Regions from separate parts of the Homo sapiens genome. Here region 2 is linked to region 1. Evidence: promoter capture Hi-C in 16 types of primary human blood cells and fetal thymus (Javierre and others, 2016). All regions are on one chromosome and are shown on one strand. Each heading gives the region's core, a stretch centred on a gene start or on the middle of the fragment in contact. The rest is flanking DNA. Distances are from core to core; before and after follow the strand shown.

The links. The method cuts DNA at HindIII sites, captures the fragments that hold promoters and counts their contacts. A CHiCAGO score of 5 or more calls a contact.
Region 2: a contact is called between a fragment that was not itself captured here and the fragment with the promoter of KPNA1 in region 1, in 1 of 17 cell types (total CD8 T cells). The highest score is 6.3, in total CD8 T cells.

Annotation. Positions count from the first base shown.
Region 1 is chr3:122,511,094-122,517,631 of GRCh38, reverse strand. KPNA1 (karyopherin subunit alpha 1) reads left to right here and starts at 2,693. Exons shown (of 14, transcript NM_002264.4): 1 at 2,693-2,875. LOC107984000 (a long non-coding RNA gene) reads right to left here and starts at 2,603. Exons shown (of 2, transcript XR_924403.3): 1 at 2,504-2,603; 2 at 274-607. RefSeq lists a silencer at 2,726-3,415. The HindIII fragment of the contact is 3,104 bases long and covers 2,304-5,407 here.
Region 2 is chr3:121,749,508-121,756,045 of GRCh38, reverse strand. GOLGB1 (golgin B1) reads left to right here and starts at 6,305. Exons shown (of 22, transcript NM_001366282.2): 1 at 6,305-6,414. RefSeq lists an enhancer at 6,338-6,538. The HindIII fragment of the contact is 9,962 bases long and covers 1-6,538 here.

The sequences.
Region 1 (6,538 bases), core at 1,444-3,943:
CTGCTATTTTATTTAATTGCATTTATGCAACAGAAAAGAAATACAACAGAATGCATAATTCTAAGTAAATATCTATTTTTCATGTTTTTATGTTCAAGTAATTTATATGTTAGATTGGCAAAAATTTAAAAAGCCAGACATTTCTAACTGTTAGCAAGTGAAGAGTATCTTATATACCGTTTCTAGAGTACAAATTGGTACAATCACTTTATGAAATAATCCAGCAATGTCTAGTGTATTAGTTTTCTATTGTATAATAAATTACCATAAACATAGTATCTTAAGACACATTTATTATCTCACAGTTTCTGTAGACCAGGAGTCTACGCACAGTTTATCTGTTTTCTTTGCTCAGGGTCTCACAAAACTGCTATCAAGGTTTAAGTCAGGCTGTCTTCTCATCTGGAGGCCACCTCTCAGGTTGTTGGCAGAATTCATTTCCTTGTGGTTGTGTGACTGAGGGCCCTGGCTTCTTACTGGTTGTCAGCTGCAGGCTGCGCTCAAGTTCTAGAAGCCGTCTGCAGTTCCCTGCCATTTAGTTTTCTCCATAGGCAGTTCGCAACATGACAGCTTGCTTCTTCAAGGCCAGCGAATCTCTAGCTCCAGTCTGGAAAGACAGTCTTATATAATGAAACGGAATCATGGGAGTGACATTCTATCACCTTTGCCATATTCTGTTGGCTAGAAGTAAGTCAAAGGTCCCACCTACACTCAAGGGGTGGAGATTATATAGGCAACACCAGGGACCAGAGATTATGGGGGCCATCTTAGATTTCTGCCTGATACATATAGTAAGGTTAAAGATGCAATGTCCTAGGATCTAGCAGTTTCCCTATACACAGTAGAGATGTACAAGAATGTTCACAGCAGCATTGTTTGTGACAGTAAAAAATACTGTTCTATACTTTCAAATTTCTCAAACTATAAAATGATATTGTCAGAGAGACAGTAGCTTATAAAACACCATGTATGGTATGATAACATTTTTGTAAAAGTAACATACATAGGAATTCAACTTCCAGCAATGGCCTACTGTTGTTTTCAATCAACCTTTCCACTACAGAGAACAACTGAACAAAATATAAAAACGTTAATGTACTGAAGAGCTACCAAGGAAGTGAGAATTTGTGAGTGCAAGGTCTGGAAGAAAAAGGAAGCCACCAGAGGTTAGCCTGATATTTGCCATCATTTTTCCAAAGCTAAGGTGATTGCTGACTCTGAAAGCAGTGGCTGAAACAGGGAGAAGAGCTTATGGCTGTCTCATGGGGCTTAGAAGGCCCACCAAAGAGAAGAGGCCCTAGTAAATACCCCAGACTTTTGGATGGGACCATCAAGGACTAGCTAGGAATAAGGGTGAACCGGAAATAAATTAGCTTTCCCAAAGACTGAAGACCGGCTCTGAATAATCAGTCTTAGTTCCTTATTGGAATAAGGTGATCTGTCTTCAGTCTAGCTGTGGTCAGGCAAACTTGCCCTTAAGTCTCTCCTGTTGAACACACCTTCCCTTTCCCCAGCCCCCTTGCTCAAACTCAACTCTGATCTTAGTAAACACAACATCAGCGGGAGAATGCTGATGCAGCAGAGAGAAGTCCAGGACAAATGAACATTGCATAACCTAGGATTCAGGTAGAGTGGTCCTCTCTCCTCTCCTCTTCCCTGGGACATTTATAAATGTATTAATCTACCTCATCTCTTTCACCTTGCTTCTTGGCATGTGTTTTAAATCTGTCTACTATTCCGTGATCCCTGCTAGGCTGGCTTCAGTTTTTCTTCTTTTGAAGCCACTACTCCATTTGCTCCCCCAAAGAATTCCATGAAATTTAACATTAGCAATCATTTGCTCCAAGTTTTCGTTTGAGAGCAGTTGAGAGTAAAACGAGTATGTGTTTCATGTAGTTTCATTATTATTATTATTATTATTGTTATTATTATTTTTGAGGCAGGGTCTCACTCCGGTTGCCCAGGCTGGAGTGTAGTGGCGCGATCTCGGCTCACTGCAGTCTCACCGTCAACCCCGGGCTCAGGTGATTCTCCCACCTCAGCCTCCCGAGTAGCTGGGACTTCAGGCGCCCGTCACCACCCCCTGCTAATTTTTGTGTTTTTAGTAGAGACGGGGTTTCGCCATGTTGCCCAGGCTAGTCTCAAAACTCCTAGCCTCAAGTGATCCACCCACCTCGGCCTCCCAAGGTGCTGGGATTACAGGTGTGAGCCACCGCGCCCGGCCCTTAATTATTTTTGATACTACGCATACGTTATCAAGCAAAGGGGATGGGAGATAACTAAAAAAGGAATGTCCAGAAGCTTCCTGCATTCATGCTGCATGTGAGCCCTTTAGACACGAGGCGCTGACCTACTAATTTTGTAATACTCCCTCAGCCTTCAATCATTCCATCATTCATTCCATCAACGCGTATTAGGTACTTAGAAGCTATACAGAGGTGAGCATCGATCCGCCCTGGAAGAGCTTAGCAAAGACAGGTTTGTACATATAACTTTCTCCAACCTTTGCCATGGTCTGCAAACCTCCTTCTTAGCGAGACCCCCTCCCCGACCCCCGACTCTTCACAGGCTGGGCGCTAACCATTAGGAATGTCCGGCGAGAGAGCGTTACAAGACTACGTCTCCCGGCAGCCTCTGCGACAAGCGCCGGAGGGGCGCGCGTAGGCGCTCGGGCCGGCCCCCGCACGCAGGCGCACTGCGAACGCCGGCTGAGCTGAGTCTCGCTGCTCGGTGCGAGGCGGCGGAGAGCGAGGCCTGGTGAGCACCGCCGAGGCGCGGGCCAGCTCTTCGAGGTTGTGCGCGGGAGTGGCACGGCGGGCGGGCGAGCGAGGGGCTAACTTCAGCGGTGGCACCGGGATCGGTTGCCTTGAGCCTGGTGAGTGCTGGGGCCTTGCGGCCCCGGCCCCTCCCCCTCCCGCCGGCAGATCCGGGCAGTCCCGGAGGGACTCAGGAGAGGCCCTGGGGCGAGGGCGGGTGCCGGCAGGGCCTAGAGCCGGGGTTCCTGGGCCGGACGCTCGCGCCGCGTCCGTGCGTCACGGGCCCGGCTGTCCTAACGGCCACAAGGCCGGCGGAGGAGAGGGTGGGGGTGGGGAGCCCTGGTGTGATCGCCATCGGGAACGCCGGTCGAGGCTAGGCGGGGCGGGGCGGCGTGGCGCGGCGGCGGGGCTGTAAGCGGCGCCGGGGACTGCGGGGCGCCGAGGCAGCGGGCGGAGAGGAGGCGAGCGCGGAGCCTGCGCCGCGGCCGGGCGGCGGGCGGGAGGCGGGGGTGGGCCGCGCAGAGCGCTGTGACAGAGGCAGGAAGGAGCAGGGGTGGCGTGTAAAAATTCTAACCCTGGCAAAAAGGGACCGTCTTGGGAATTCACAAGTTACAGACCGGGTCGGAGCCGGCGGCCCGGAGGGAGGTGGGGGAAGCGGGGGGTGGAGACGGCCGGCTGCAGTTTACCGATGTCATAACAACATGGGCCTGGAGCGGCTGATCGGGGGTGTGGTAATTATAGCAATGACAGAACTTGGTCTGCACGCCGCGTGTGCGATGCGAGGGAAGCAGCGAGGTATCGGATTAAGCTCAAAACGGGAGGAGGAAACAAGGATGACTGGAGTCAAGGAAGTCGTCATGAAGTAATGTTTTAGGATTGGGTCGTGTTCCACTTTTAAATGAAAGCGTTCAAAATATTTGATTTTTAAGGTTTCAACTCAGAACAAACGATTGCCGAGTTTTTGTTTGTATTTTAAAGAGATGGGGTCTCGCTATATTGCCCAGGCTGTACTCCAACTCCTGAGCTCAAACTGTCCTCTTGCCTCAGCTTCCCAAGTAGCTGGGACTAGTCTTGGGCAACCACACCCAGCTCTGCAGAGTATTTTTTTTTCTGAAACGTACTGTCAAGTAATATTAACTTGAATTTCACCCTTTTTTCTTAAATAAACGGTTGCTTAAAAATCTCTATTAGTAGATGAAGTGATTTCCCCCCTCCTGTTTTGTTTTTTTTTTTCTTAAGAGATGGAGTCTTGCTTTGTTTCCCGGGCTGATCTGGAACTCCTGGCCTCAAGGCATCCTCCCTACTAGCTGGAACTACAGGCGGATGCCACCAGCAAGGCTCATTCTCGACATTGTTTTTGTCTTAACTAGCTTTTGCATTTGTAATATTTTGAAAGCAGTACACAAGTTATTTTTCCCTCCTTTTTAAAGATCAAAGAGATGAAAATTTAATTTTTCAAAGGAAAGTAAGAATGAGTTCTGTTGTATTTTTACTGAAATATTCTTGGAAGACACTGTTTTATGGATAGATGAGACGTAAGAGAAAGTAAAGGAATTAACATTTATTGAGTTCTTTTTTCAGGTATTGTGTTAAATGCTTTACATATATTAAAAACATTTGAATCTGAAGTATCTGTTAATTTTTCTATTTTACAGATGAAAGCATTGACAATCAAATGTTAAGTAACTTACCTAAGGTCTTCCAGTTCTTGTTGAGAACAACCTTAGAACCCAAAGTTACTGCCATTTAAATTATTTCTCTCCTTTCATACTTTTTCGTTGTTTTCTTTATTTAATCCGTTCAATCAGCGAATACTTACAGAGTGATCTTCTAGACTTGGGGGGATATAGTCGCGATCAAAACTCACTGTCCCTGTTCTCATGGAATTTATAGTGTAGCAGGGAAAGCTAATATTACAAATATTGACTGCATAACATTTTGTCAGTTATTATAGTTGAGTAGCAACTGTAAAGCACTCTACTAAATAGTAAAGGCAGTTCAAATGGAAGCAGACAACATAAGCCTTGAGGAGTTTACAGTCCTGTAGGGCAACAAAACATACATTTATGAAAACCTAGAATAAACTAAATTAGAAAGGTATCACCTGAAATCACTATACTTGCATTATGGTATTTTTTATTTTATTTATTTATTTTTTTGGATGCTTGCTCTGTTGCCCAGGCTGGGCAGTGACGCGATCTCGGCTTACTGCAGCCTCTGCCTCCCTGGTTCAAGCAGTTCTCCTGCCTGAGACTGCCTGAGTAGCTGGGACTACAGGGGCATGAGGCCACACTCGGCTAATTTTTTGTATTTTAGTAGAGACGGGTGGTTTCACCGTCTTGCCCAGGCTGGTCTCGAACTCCTGAGCTCACGCAATCCGCCCTCCTCGGCCTCCCGAAGTTCTAGGATTACAGGCATGAGCCACCGCGCCCAGCCGCATTATGTTACTTTATAAAGTGGTTCTCGTAGAAGTTTCTTCACAGAACTATGATTTAATATACATCTTATCTAGAGCTGATACTTACCAAAGGGGCCATTAAAAACATCTTTTCTTCATTAATATCTAATGAAGAAATTTCTAATTTATGTATTGGTTCCTATAAAATACAGACCTTAGAGACAAATTCTTCCTAAGACCCCAGTATTAAGCTTTTTTTTTTTAAACTAATGATTGGTTTTATTAGATTATTTTTGTTTTGTAAGCCATCCTGTTTCTCTATACTTTGACTGTCAGGAGTCTCAGAGCTGTGTTCAATTTTTATAATTTTCTTTAGTCTCAACTATGTTAAGAATTATTTTATACGTAACCTGGAATTGCTGTCAGTTGTTTCTTGCATTATTTTCTTTATTCTCTGTTGCTCTCAATGGTCCTTTTACCTTTTCCCTTTTCCCTTTACATTTGAGAATAGGATTATATCTTATTCTTTGCATCTTCAGTGTTTTAGCACAGTGTTTGTTGAATTAATGATAAAATAGAGTTTTAATGATTTATGATGTCTGTGCTTTTAAGTCTACCAGATTGTTTTTAGATGTATGAGTACTGTGTATAAAATCAGTTAAGACCTTTGATTGGTCTTGCAAGTAAAGATGACTGACCTAGTGATAAAGATAACTCCTTGTTTTGTTTTAAGGTATCTTTGTACTTTGCATGGTGTTATGAATTTAGCCATAATAGGGAAGAAAACACTGGAAATGGTAAACAGTTAAATTAGCTGATTTGGGCTGATTTCTGTCTTTTGCTGCAGTAAGCAGGAGATGGCCTGAGGCCAACTGAGGGCCAGATAGGGCCTGCATTAGAAAATTTTGAGGTTGTACATTGGAAGAGTAGGGATGAAGACTGTGGGAATGTATGTTTCTTTCTTTCTTTTTTTTAAAGATGTTACAAACCTACAAAACAACATGAAAAAATGGTTCTGTCCAAGTGTTGTAGACTAATTGGGACAGTTCTTGAAAGCAGGCAGTAATCCAGAATGTGGATAATGGAGATAATCTCCTTCATATTAACAAGAATAATGCTGCCCTTCATATACAAAGATAAGTCTGCTTACTCATCATGATTGTTTTTCCAGCGTGAGGAGGGATATGTGCTGAGTCCATGAGTGCCTATATACTCTGTGAGCAACAAGGCAGGTTGGGGTCAGAATAGGCAGCTTGGGGTCAGAATAGGCAGCTTGGGGTCAGCTAGGGAACAGAAAGACCCGCTGAAAGTACTCTGACATCTATTGATGGGTCAGGTTCTGCATCAGGTGCTTTCACTTACTTGTTCTTGCAAAACCATTTTG
Region 2 (6,538 bases), core at 2,916-5,415, 760 kb after region 1:
TGGAAATATATGTATACACATACATTCCTTTATTTTTTTGGCACAGTTTTAGATTTACAGACACATTGAGCAGACATACAGAGTTTTATATATTCATCTCATCCTCCCCCCACTTCCCACCTCTCAGCAGTTTCCCCTATTATTACCATGTTTATTACATTTGATGAACCAATATTGAGACATTATCATTAACTAAAGTCCACAGTTTACATTAAAATTTACTCTTTATGTTATACAGTTCTATGGAGTTTGACAAATGCACAATACCACATATCCACCACTGCAGTGTCATACAAAATAGTTTCTCTCCCTTAAAATATTCTCTCTATTCCATATATTAATCCTTCTTTGCCCCTTCCCAACCCCATCCATGACAGCCACTGATTTTCTTTTACTGTTTCTATAGTTTTGCCTCTTTCAAAATGTCAAATTGCTGGACCACACAGTATATAGCCTTTTCAGACTGATTTCTTTCACTTAACAATATGCATTTAACGTTCCTCCATGTCTTTTCATGGCTTGATTGCTCAATTCATTTTATCACTGAATAATGTTCAATTGTATGAAATACCACAGTATATCTGTTTATCTACTGAAGGACATCTTTGCTTTCAAGTTTTGGGAATTACGAATAAAGCTGCTATAAACATTCATGTGCAAGTGTTTTTGTGGACATACATTTTCACTGATTTTGATATATCTAGGAGCATGATTGCTGGATGGTATGGTCAATCTATGTTTAGCTTTGTAAGAAACTGCTTAACTGTCTTCCAAAGTGGTTGTATCATTTTACATTCCCATCAGTAATAGATGTGAGTTCCTGTTGTTCTACATGCTTGCCAGCAGTTGATGATGTCCAGGTTTTGGATTTTTGTGATTCAAATAGGTGTGTGGTGGTATCTTATTGTTCCTTTAATTTGCAATTCCCTAGTAACATATGATGTTGACTTCCTTTCCTTTCCTTTTCTTTCCCCTCCCTCCCTCCCTTCTTCCTTCCTTCATTTATCTTTCTTCCTCTTTCTTTCTTTCTTCCCCTCCCTCCCTCTCTCTTTCTCTTTCTTTCTCTCTCTTTCTTTCCTTCCTTCCTTCCTTCCTTCCTTCCTTCCTTCCTTCCTTCCTTCCTTCTTTCTTTCTTTCTTTCTTTCTTTCTTTCTTTCTTTCTTTCTTTCTCTTTCTTTCCTCTCTCTCTCTCTCTCTTTCTCTCTTTCTTTCTGACACGGAGTCTCCCTGTGTCCCCCAGGCTGGAGTGCAGTGGCGCAATCTCAGCTCATTGCAACCTCCACCTCCCGGGTTCAAGCGATGCTCCTGCCTCAGCCTCCTGAGTAGCTGGGATTACTGGCGCGCGCCACCACGCCTGGTTAATTTTTGTATTTTTTTAAGTAGACACGGGGGTTTCATCATGTTGGTTAGGCTGGTCTTAAACTTCTGACCTTGTGATCTGCCTGCCTCGGCCTCCTAAAGTGCTGGGATTACAGGCATGAGCTATCGTGCCCGGCTGCATTTTTTTGTGTGCTTATTTGCCATCTGTGTATCTTCTTTGGTGAGGTGTCTGTTCAGATCTTTTGCCCACTTGTGAATTTTTTTAATTAAAATTTTTGCATTATAAGAGTTCCTTGTGTATTTTAGGTAACAGTCCTTTATCAAATAGGTATTCTACAAATATTTTCTCCCAGTCTGTGCCTTGTTTTTTTAATCTTCTTAACGGTGCCTTTTGCAGAGCAGAAGTTTTTCATTTTAATCAAGTCCAACTTATTGTGTTCTCCCCCCCGCATTGGCTCATGCTTTTGGTGTTGTATCTGAAAAGTCATCACCAAACTCAAAGTCACCTAGAGTCTCAAATTATCCTATAGATGTTTTATATTTTTACATTTTATATTTACATCTTAAGATCCACTTTGAGTTAATTTGTATAAAAGGTATAAGGTGTGTGTCATTTTTTGCATGTGGATTTCCAGTTGTTCTAGCACCATGTATTGAAAAGACTCTTTTCTCCATTGAATTGCCTTTGCTCCATTCTCAAAGATCAGTTGTCTACATTTATGTGGATCTATTTTGGGGCTGTCCATTCTGTTCCATTGGTCTATTTGTCTATTCTTTAGCCAATACCATGCTGTCTTGTTTACTGTAGCTGTGTAGTAAGTCTTGAAGTTGGGTAACGTCAGTCCTCCAACTTTGTTCTTCTTGAATAGTCTGTGGATTATTCTGGGTCTTTTACTTTTTCATATAAAATTCAGAATTAATTTGTTGATATCCACAAAATAATGTGCTAAGATTTTGATTGAGATCTTATTGAATCTACAGATAAAGTTGGGAAGAATTGACATCGTAACAATACTGATGCTTTCTGGGAATATGGAATATTTCTCAATTTATTTAGATTTTAATTTTTTTAATCAGAGGTTTGCTAGTTTCCTTCACATAGAGCCTGTACATATTTTGTTAGATTTATGCCTAAGTATTTATTTCGTCTTTTTTTTTTGAGGCTAATGTAAATGGTATTGTGTTTTTAATTTCAAATTCCAATTGTTCTTTGCTGAGGAAAGCAATTGACCTTTTACCCTGTAGCCTCGTTAAAATTGCTTATTAATTCCAGGAGGTTTTTGTTTATTCTTAGATATTTTTTACATAAAAAATCATGCCATCTACAAAGACAGTTTTATTTATTACTTGCTAGTATGAATATCTTTTATTTCCCTTTATTGTCTTACATTAGGCAGGAGGTTTAGTATAATGTCACCTAGGAGTAGTGACAGGGGACATCCTTACCTTGTTCCTGATCTTAGAGGGAAAGCATCCAGTTTCTCACCATTAAGAATCTGCAATATTTTTCTATCAAGTTGAGTAAATATCCTTCGATTCCTAGTTTTCTGAGTTTTTTTTTTTAATCATGAATGGGTGTTGATTTTTCTTCTTCCCCCACCTTCCCTCTTCTTCTTTCCCCACCTTCTTTCCTCAGCTTCTTTTCCCTATCCCCACCTTCCCTCTCTTCTTCCCCCACCTTCCCTCTTCTTCTTCCCCTGCCATCCCTCTTCTTCTTTCCCCTTTCCCTACCATCCCTCTTCTTTCCCCTTTCCCCACCATCCCTCTTTTTCTTTCCCCACCTTCCGTCTTCCTTTCCCCTTTCTTTCCTCTCCTTCCTTCTTCTTTTTCCCCCCTCATCTCCCTTCCTCTTTCCCCACCATCCCTCTTCTTCTTTCCCCACCTTCCCTCTTCTTGTGAAAATATTTTTCTTCATTGGTTGATGTGATCATGTGATTGTATATTTTTGCATATAATTGATATGTCTCAAAGTTATATTTTTCAAGACAATTTCTTATTTCTCCAAGATTTTAAGATTTATTCATATAGAATTCTATGTTGGATATTTTATTTAACAAATATTTATTGAGTATATACTATGCTGAAGATACGTTAGGTATGGAAGATACATTAATAAATAAGGCTGCATGAAAGTTTTGGAATAAGTTTGCATTTGGTATAGAGGAAGGTAAGATGATGATGAGGAAAGAACTGAAAAAGGGGAGAGGGAATTGGGCAACAGTAAATCACAGAGAATGTGACATTTCTTGTCTTTCAACTTTTCCTCCCTGTACTTTCAATTAGGGAAATGATCACTCTCTAAGGGACACCTGAATGACTCCACACTTCTGTGATTTCTGCAGTCTCTAACTGCTCTGGAGCTTAGAGTCATATCCAAACCCCTTAGCATAAAATGGCACAATTTTATGACCTACTCTTTGCCTAACCATTCAGTCATATCACTTATGTCAAATTGCCCAAATGGTCCATGCACATGCTGCTCCATCTACCTCCACTATTCTGTACCCTCTTTTTTGCTGGGGCAACCCCTAATTATCTTTTATTATCTTGATCACCCTCTCAGAGCCTAAATTGCTTCCATTAAGTTGCATTCTAAATTATTTCCAGTCCTTCAGTGAACTTAGAAATAATATGTTTTGCTCTTTAACTTCTCCACCTCATTTTCTTCCTTCACACCCCTAGTGTTCACTATAATTCTCACCATACTGTGCTCACCCAATAATAGAAGGTAGAGCTATAAGAAGACCTACTAGACAGAAAAAATTCTAATCTCGTCTCCCATAAGAAACTTTCATTCTGTTAAAACTGAAAGGTAAATTCTAAGGTCGAATGTGGAAATAAGTATGTAGAAAGGTAAATTTTGTGTAAGGGAGTACAATAGGACTCTCAGTGATGGCTTCTATTTTCTCTAAGATAGAAGCAAGTTCATCTGCTAGGAGTGTGAAGTGTAGACACGGGGTTGGGACTTAAAGAGGATGTTAAAGGTTTGAATAATTGTGGCAAATAGGAGAGGAAGCTGAAGACAAGAAGGATTTGGGAGTGTGCTGAAGATGGAGTTCAGCTGGAAACTGAATGTGCAGTGGTCAGGACATTGATGTCACTGATGACATTGTCCTGATGTCTCCTGCAGCATTTTGCTCCCCAAAGGTAGAAGTAGAGACCAATGGTTGGACTGATGCAGGTTTAGGACTTTGCTGGGTGGATACAATCAGGGATATAAGAATATGATGTATTCATTAAGTACTGCAGCATTCAAATTCTGTCTCTGCCCCTCACCATGTGACCTTGTGCAAATTATTTAACCTTCTGAAGTCTTATTGTCTCACATTTAAGATAAGGATAATCATATATACTTTATTAATTTAACAGATATTGAGTGCCCTCCTCTATACTTTTCTGGGACCTGGAGATAAAGCTGAGATCAAAATTACTACCTTCCTGGAGCTTATAATCTAATGAGAAGAGAGATACCAGATAAATGAAATATATAGTACTTTAGATGGCAAAATGCTTAGGGGAAAAAGAAGCAAAGAAGAAGTATATAGTGCATGCAGGAAATTGCAATTTTATTTATGTTTGTATTGATACATATTTGTACATATTTATGGGGTGTGGTAGTTTGATATATGCATACAATGTGTAATGATCAAATCAGGGTGTTTAGGATATCTATCACCTCAAACATTTATCATTTTTGTGTTTGGAACATTTCTAATCTCCTAGTTATTTTGAAATATATAACATATTGTTAACTATAGTCACCCTACTGTGCTATCAAACACTTGAACTTATTCCTTCTATCTACGTTTGTACCCATTAACCAATCTCTTCCCTCCCTCCCCCAACTCCACCTTCCCAGCCTCTGGTACTTATCTCTACTCCATGAGATCAACTTTTTAAGCTCCCACATGAGTGAGACCATGGGATATTTGTCTTTCTGTGCCAGACTTATTTCACTTAGAATAATGACCTCCAGTTCCGTAAGATGGGCAGCCAGGAAAGGCCTTACTTAGCTGATGTTTGAATTGTGAAGTTATGTAATCATTAAGATGAGTATACATACAATGGGCCAGCTGAGTGCACAGCAAGATTCAATAAATTCAAACTAACATTACTCTTATTGCCAAGAGAGTGCCTGAAATGACAGCTCATTGGAAACTGGCTACTTTCCTTCCCTTTCCTTAGGGGTTTAAGGAAAGCATGAGTGATTTCAGTCTTTTGCTGGAGCTCCTCACTGACACTCATTGCAGAGCCTGAGCCCTCAACTCTCAATCTTTGCTTAGGTCCTGGCTTAGGCTCCACTTTGTAAGAGGCACCTTCCTAGTATTCACTACTCTCTCTCTCACAATCATGTCCTTACAGACATTGCTGATCCTCTTTCATACTGACACCGGGTTCTAGTCCGAGTTCCATCACTAAGTCGCTGTTTGACTTTGGGCAAGTTACTTCTGTGGTTAATTATTTTTCATCAACAAAATCAAAAGGTGAAACTAGACGAACAACTAAGAGGCTCCAGTATTTTTTCAATCTAAGAGTCCCATATCCCCCACTCCCTTCTCACAGCTCATTCAACAATCCTAATGGCAGCGGGTGCCCGCAGTCTCAAGTCTCTGCCGAAGCCCAAGCCGCTGTCTCGGTCAGTCACAACCGACGAAGAGGAGGAATTGGAGGAAGCCAGCATAACCACTTCACACTGAGAACATCTGACCTTTCCCAGAACGCCCGCCCACTCGACACTTCCTGTCCCTCCCCAGATCTTGTTCCGGGGCACCTACTCGCGTCTAATCACTCCCCTCATTCACTCTTTAGGGTCCATTGGCTGTTTCTTTGAGGAAGCGGAGCATCTTCTGTCGTTGATTGGTTTCCGTCATTGTTGATAGGTTGGTAACAAACAAGGTGTGCCTGGTCTCCCTGGTAACGTCCTGCCGATAGTCCTGATTGGTCGGTGTCTTAATCCCATCTTCCGTCCCAACTGCTAGTGGCTGAGTCCCTGGCGGGGCGCGGCGGTGGAAGGTGTCGCGTACGGGCTTCCCGAGCTGACGTGGCTTGAATTGGGAGGGGGGCAGCTGGAGCCTCAGGCGGCAGCGCTTCTAGGTGAGTAGGGGACGCTACCCAACTCTTCCCTCTGCGAGTCCAATAACGGTCACCCCCGCCAGAGGGGCCGCGGGAGCTGCCCAAGCAGCTACACCGGAGTCCCCTCCTCGCCCCGCCTCTCCCG